Linked DNA regions of Homo sapiens: region 1 is linked to region 2. Evidence: promoter capture Hi-C in 16 types of primary human blood cells and fetal thymus (Javierre and others, 2016). All regions are on one chromosome and are shown on one strand. The core of a region is centred on a gene start or on the middle of the fragment in contact, and the rest is flanking DNA. Distances in the headings are between cores, read along the strand shown. Region 1 overlaps IL18RAP (interleukin 18 receptor accessory protein). Region 2 holds the start of IL1RL1 (interleukin 1 receptor like 1).

Region 1 (3,200 bases), core at 534-3,033, 130 kb after region 2:
GATGTGTAATTGTTCTTTAACTCAGCCATCACTCAGCCCCTCAAATTCTCAATGGCATAATCTGCTTTTCTGTCACCCAAGGGACACCTTGCAACATCTGTTGCATCTATTTCAGTCAAGCCCTCTCTGTTGTCATCCCTGTCTTCCTCATTTAATCATTCATTCTCATATTTATTCATTTCCACACAAATATTTACTGAACATGTAATATGTGTCAGGCTTGGAGCTAAGGCTACAAGAATGAGTGCCCGGATGCTTTATCTGGCCTCCAAGAACTTTCCATTTTGAGAAGAAGACAAAGGTGAAGCAGGCTGTCATAATACAGTGCAGCAAGAGAAAGGAGCACTATGGGCACATGGAGGCCCACCAGACCCAACCTGGGGAAGCCCGCTCCAAGTGAGAGCTGATGGATGAGGACACACCAGCTCAGTAAGGGTGGGGAGCTTCCATTCCAGACTGAGGAAGCAGCAGAGCTGATGTCCAGGAGATGAAGAAGAGCATCTGGGAGTAGGACTGACATCACACTCTTCTAATACGTGTTAAAATTATCTAATTACCTAATTATCTAATACGTGTTAAAATTTATGAAGGAACAATGGGGAGGCATTGAGGATTTTAAGTGGGAGAATGTCGTGACTGAATTTGTATTCAAGATAGATCACCTTGTTTGCTGGGTCGGAAGTGGGTTTGTAAGAGCAGGAATGGAGGCAGGGAGAAGAGTTAGGAAGTTCTGTGGTCAAGCAGGCAGTTGCTGATAGGGATCTGAACTAGGGAGTGGTAGAGGGAATGGAGAGAAGTGGATGACTTTGGAAATGTTTAAGAGGTACATTTAAAGGATTTGGTGTTCGGGAGCAAGGAAGAGGGAAAGCAGGAGCCATGGATACAAGCCAGCCTTTGAGCTGGTCAAGGAGGGAATGTGCTGACAGAGCACAACAGTACAGAGGATGAGAGCAGGCACAGTCGTGGAGCAGCAAGCTTGACTCATGGTTAAACCATGCCTCTGCTTGTGCTGTAAATAGACCTAGCAGAGGTGATGAGAAGTAGCTGGACTTGTAGGTCAACAGAGCATGATAATGGTTTTTACATAAAAGGTAGGAGAAAGAGAAGAATCAAGGATGTTTTTTGTTTTCTGCCCTGGATAAGTTAGTGAATGGTGGTACCATTTAAGGAGACTGAAAAAGCTGAAGGGAAAGAGCATTTGAAGAGGAGATTAAGTATTAGGCTTAAAAGGACTTTTAGTCATCCAAGTCATGACGACAAGTAGGTATTTGGACAAGCCAGTCTGGAGAAGTTAGGGCTGGAGATGTGAATGTGAAGATGATCGATTTTTACATAATATCTGAAGCCAAAGAGCTGAATGAGATCACCTAGGAAGTGGGCATAGAGACAGAAGGGGCTAGAGCCAAACCCGGAAATGCTTGAAGAGGTGGAGAAGAGGAAGACAATCCTCAAAGAGGATGGGAACATACATCAGCAAGTGAATATCAGTGGAAGGGTGGTGAGAAGAGAAACAAACGAAGTGAAATTGATGATGTAGGAAAGACATAACCTCAGGCACCAAGACCTTTCATAGGGAAGAGGCCTAGAGAGTAAACTTACTACCCAGGGGTATCAGGAGGAGTGAAAGAACACTAGGAGAGGACTAATAGTTAAAAGAGACACAGAGGAAGGGACAGGCACAGAGAAGTGAATATAGCGGTTGAAAGTAAGCAGTAGAGTACGGGAACATGGAACCAAAAGAAGAGAGGGTTTCAAAGAGAGCATGGCCAACAGTGTCCAATGCTGCTAAGAGGTAAAGTAGACGAAAAATGTGATTATGCCCAATGGATTTAGGTGCATAGGTGGCACTGGTGAATTTGGTTAAGCAGTTTTAGTGGACAGATGGCGGCGGAAATCAGGTTCCATAGGAGGTGAAAGGATGGAGGGAATTAGCACATAGAACTGCCTTTCAAGAATTTGGCTGGGAAGGAAGGAGAATAAGTGAGGCTGGGATATAAGGCAGGGTGTGTTTTCTCTTTTTTAGGATGATGAGACTGAGCATGAATAAATGTTGATGAGAAGAAGCCCAGAGAAAGCGAGAGAGAGAGAGGGAGAGAGAGACAAGTTAAAAATACAGGACTGAGATGGTGCAAAGGGGAGAAGGAGGTCTCTGAGAAGTAAAAGTAGGTGATGTCAACAGCAAAGACCCTGGATTTTTCTTTATCCAGAAAAAGACACACCTTCAGGAGGAAGTTTGACAGTGGAGGCATATTTGACAGTGGAGGCATATTTGTGGCAAGAAGTTGATGGATAAAATTGTTAATTAAGGACTGGACTCTTCTTTATTTTGAAATAAACCATGAGTTTAAGGATGGAGGGGTGGACTCGGATATGCTTGACTTGCACAGTTTCTTGGGTGGATTCTCCTTTCAGTTCAATTACTCAGCCAGATGGCACCACAAAGAAATCTTGTGGGAAAAGACAGGGATAGGAGCTCAGGTCTGCAAGGGGCAGGATTAGTGTGAAAGAGAATGCACACAAGCAGATATGGATCAATTAACAACTAATGTTTTACCAGCACCCACAACCTGATGTGGCAGTCATTTTAGGGGGCAAGCTTTTTACATGGAAACCGGAATTCCTAACTTACAGGTAATTAGTAAAATGTGAAGACAGAGCTCCAAGACATTTAGATCAAAGTGTGGCTGTGCACCTAAATCTTCATCAAGCAGGCCTTCAGACTTTCCAATGCAAATAGTAATCTTTGTTTTCATCTTTCAGTGGGAGACACTAAACTCAAACCAGATATTCTGGATCCTGTCGAGGACACACTGGAAGTAGAACTTGGTAAGCTGGGCCTCATCGCCTTTGAATGACATCGTGCTGCTGGGAGCAGGTCTAAGTGTGATAGAAGGAAAACAGCATTGGGATTTCCAGTCAAACAGAATTGGGTGTGAATCTTAACTCAGCCATTGACTAGTTTTGTGACTTTGCACAGTTACTTCATCCTTTAAGCCTCAGTACTTAAATCCGCAAATAGCTATCATAAAACTGACCCTAAAAGATTATATTGCAGGCCGGGCATGGTGGCTTATGCCTGTAATCCCAGCACTTTGGGAGGCTGAGGTGGGTAGATCACTTGAGGTCAGGAGTTTGAGACCAGCCTGGCCAACATGGTGAAACCCCATCTCTACTAAAACTACAAAAATTAGCCGGGCGTG
Region 2 (3,441 bases), core at 588-3,087:
TGTGGTTCTCTAGCAGTGGAGAATAAATGATTGATGATCTTATGAAGTCATAGTCCACCTAAAGACTGCGTAGTACGCAAATGAGTCTACCATTATCTCCTCGATGTAGATTTTCATCTTTTATGTATGGTGACTCTAGGTAAGGAGAAGAGGTGATCTAGCTCACTTGGTGGGACGAGCGTCTTGACACAAATCCACAAAAAAAGGAGAGTACACACAGCTGTTCATTTGTCTGTGTGTTGAGGTGGGGGTGGGGGAGGTGAGGTTGTATTCACACAGAGAAGACATCTTAGCTCTGCACCCAAACCAAAACGAGCGTCAGTGATGTTAAAGATTGAAGGTCAGGTGCTACCCAGGTTTTGTTAGTCTCTTGACATAAACATGGTGTCTAGATATGGTACATATTATGAATCATTCCATCTTTTCAAATACATTTTGAAGGGTTTTTTTGTTTGTTTGTTTGTTTTTGAGACAGAGTTTCGCTGTGTCACCAAGGCTGGAGCACCGTGGTGCAGTCTTGGCTCACTGCAACCTTTGACTCCCGGGTTCAAGCAATTCTCGTGCCTCAGCCTCCTGAGTAGCTTGGATTAGAGGTGTGCACCATCACACGCAGCAAATTTTTGTATTTTAGTAGAGACGGGGTTTCACCATGTTGGCCAGGATGTTGGGATTACAGGCGTGAGCTACCATGCCCTGCCAGAAGGTTTGTTTTTATTTTAAACACAATTGTGCTGGGTGTGATAGGATGGGTATATGATAGAGCAGAAAATCACTAGTATTTCATCAATATGGATAGCATCCTCCATAGGTTACTGATTTAATATTGACAACAATACCCTTCACACGAGAGAGAGGTTAGAGAATTTGCCCAAAGTCAAGCAGCTGGGAAGAGGAAAACTAGGCTGTGCTCTCCCTAAATCTCATGCTCTATTATATTAGGGAAGACTCTGGCAGATGGCACATCCTGATTATTTGAAAGTCACCAATATTTTTAGAAATTGCATAGATAATTAAGGTTAGTTTATCCAGAATTCTAATAATTGCAGCACATGTCCATAAATCTCTATTACAACCACCTGAGATAGGCCATCTCGGGCATGTGGAAAAAGCCCAGGTATAGACACTTTGGATCCTGGATTTCCCTTGTACTGGCTGCTACCTTGGGTAAGGTAATTCTCCTCTCTGAAGCTCCTGTCAGCTTCTGAGGATTGCGTGGGATAGCACATACCAAATTACTGCACACAGAGCCTGGTGTACACTTAAGCACACGAGATGTGTCAAAGTTTTCAAAAACATTGCCAACGAGGCATCAGTTACAAAACTTGCTGCAGAGTGAGCTGATATTGTGCCACTGCACTCCAGCCTGGGTGACACAGTGAGGCTTTGCCTCAAAAAAAAAAAAAAAAAAAAAAGAAAGAAACACCAAATAAGCAACTTGCTGCAGAAATGGGTACTCTTGTTCTAGAAATGTGACTATAGGGAAGTTACAACTACCAACTCGCGTTAAGGGAAATGAGTGACCTGCCACCTACATGGTGTTAGGGAGGTTTTGCTGAGAAAGTCACTCATGAAGAAGGCAAAATATAGTTAAGACAAAATGTAACTATCTATAGAGATAAGGTAAAAATTGGAAATAGAACTTCATTAAAGATCTTTCAAATAGGGAGAATGTGGTGAAAACTGCAGTTAACATTTGTTAACAGTGTGATCATCGGGTTCAGCTTATCAGTAACCTGGTTCCTGTCTCTTAACTGATAAAGAAAATGGGAGGTTTTTAAAGAGAGGCTGGCTGTTGTATTTAGTAAAGCTATAAAGCTGTAAGAGAAATTGGCTTTCTGAGTTGTGAAACTGTGGGCAGAAAGTTGAGGAAGAAAGAACTCAAGTACAACCCAATGAGGGTAAGTGGCTTTGGGGTATTTTTCAAAAATACTTTTATCTCAAAGGGAACAAAATTTTCACATACGAATTTAGGTCATTATAACAATAATATTCATTGTTATATTATTATAACATTATATGTTATAATAATATATAATATATATAATATATAATTGTTATAACATTATAACAATTATATATTATATATAATACAATTATATAATATATATTATATAATTGTAATATATAATATAATTATATAATATATATTATATAATATAATATATAATATATCATATATGTTATATATTTTATTATATAATATATATTATATATAATATTATATATAATATATATTATATATAATATTATATATAATATATATTATATATAATATATTTATATATATTATATATAATATATATTATATATTAAATATTATATATATAATATATATAACATTATTGTTATAATGTTATAACATTATTATATATTAAATATAATATATATAATATTATATTTATATTGAGGAAAACATTCACTCAATGACAGAGGGAAGACTTAGCTTTCCAAACAATCTTCTGTTAAAAGAAAAACTTTAGCTGAATTAAATTTAAAGGAGTTTAATTGTGTTTTGGTGCCTTATGCAAATGAAGGGCCTATAATATAATATATAATGTAATATATATAACATTATAACAATAATAATCATTGTTATCAATTTTGCTTGTGAGAAAAGTAGTATTACCAATGGGAAAATCATGGTACAGATTGATGAAATCCCTTGAAATCTTGTTTGTGTAATATGGGACTTTGGTCCAACGTGTTGGAAAAGACCTGGTTGAGGGTAAGAAAGGATGGGAGCTTTATAGTATACACACAGAGTGCTCATATTCTGGAGTTATTCTTTCTGAAATCCACAAAATCCAGCAGTGTAATCTACTCAGATGGAGATGAAGGAAAAAAACAAAACAAATGAAGCAAGAAGCTGCTGGCCAAAAGGGGTGAGGAAGCAGGGTCATACCCATCTGCAAGAAGAAAATAGAGAACGGACATGAGAGGGGTGGATATGAGGATATGAGAAGGCCCTCTTGAGTGAGGGCCATTGTTTCTGGAGGGGTGGGGAGTGAATGACTGATGTAAGTTCAAGTTTGTTGCGGGTGCCTGCTTTGATCCTCTGCTTGGTGGCTCCATTCTTCTTCTCTCTGAAGGCTACTTCAACAGAGGGTGCAGAGGTAAACATAGCAGAACTGGCCCCCAAAGCTTTATCCACTGAATGTCAGTTTTTCCTTTAATTTCTTCCAGGCATAAGGAAATCGGAGGCATGTTTCTGTCTGGCTATAACAGTTCTCCTACTAGATCCTGAGGCCAAACTATTCACATGCCATTGTTCCTGAATACCATTGTGGACATAATCATCTAATTTTGGCTATTCCATGCAGAGGTTTGGAGACAGAAAGCTCTGGACTAATGCAGATCTGCATTTAATCCCTGCTCTTACACTTACTTGTTGCATGACCTTAAGCAACTCATCTATGTCTTTAAATCTTGAGTTTCTTGCTT

What was found. The method cuts DNA at HindIII sites, captures the fragments that hold promoters and counts their contacts. A CHiCAGO score of 5 or more calls a contact.
Region 1: a fragment that was not itself captured here is called in contact with the fragment with the promoter of IL1RL1 in region 2 in 1 of 17 cell types (total CD8 T cells); the score reaches 5.0 in total CD8 T cells.

Annotation. Positions count from the first base shown.
Region 1 is chr2:102,438,552-102,441,751 of GRCh38, forward strand. It overlaps IL18RAP (interleukin 18 receptor accessory protein), which reads left to right. Exons shown (of 10, transcript NM_001393487.1): 5 at 2,761-2,826. Among named protein-coding and RNA genes, the nearest start is that of MIR4772, 7.9 kb to the left of the region's middle. The HindIII fragment of the contact is 1,621 bases long and covers 974-2,594 here.
Region 2 is chr2:102,309,726-102,313,166 of GRCh38, forward strand. IL1RL1 (interleukin 1 receptor like 1) reads left to right here and starts at 1,838. Exons shown (of 11, transcript NM_016232.5): 1 at 1,838-1,898. The HindIII fragment of the contact is 5,145 bases long and covers 1-3,139 here.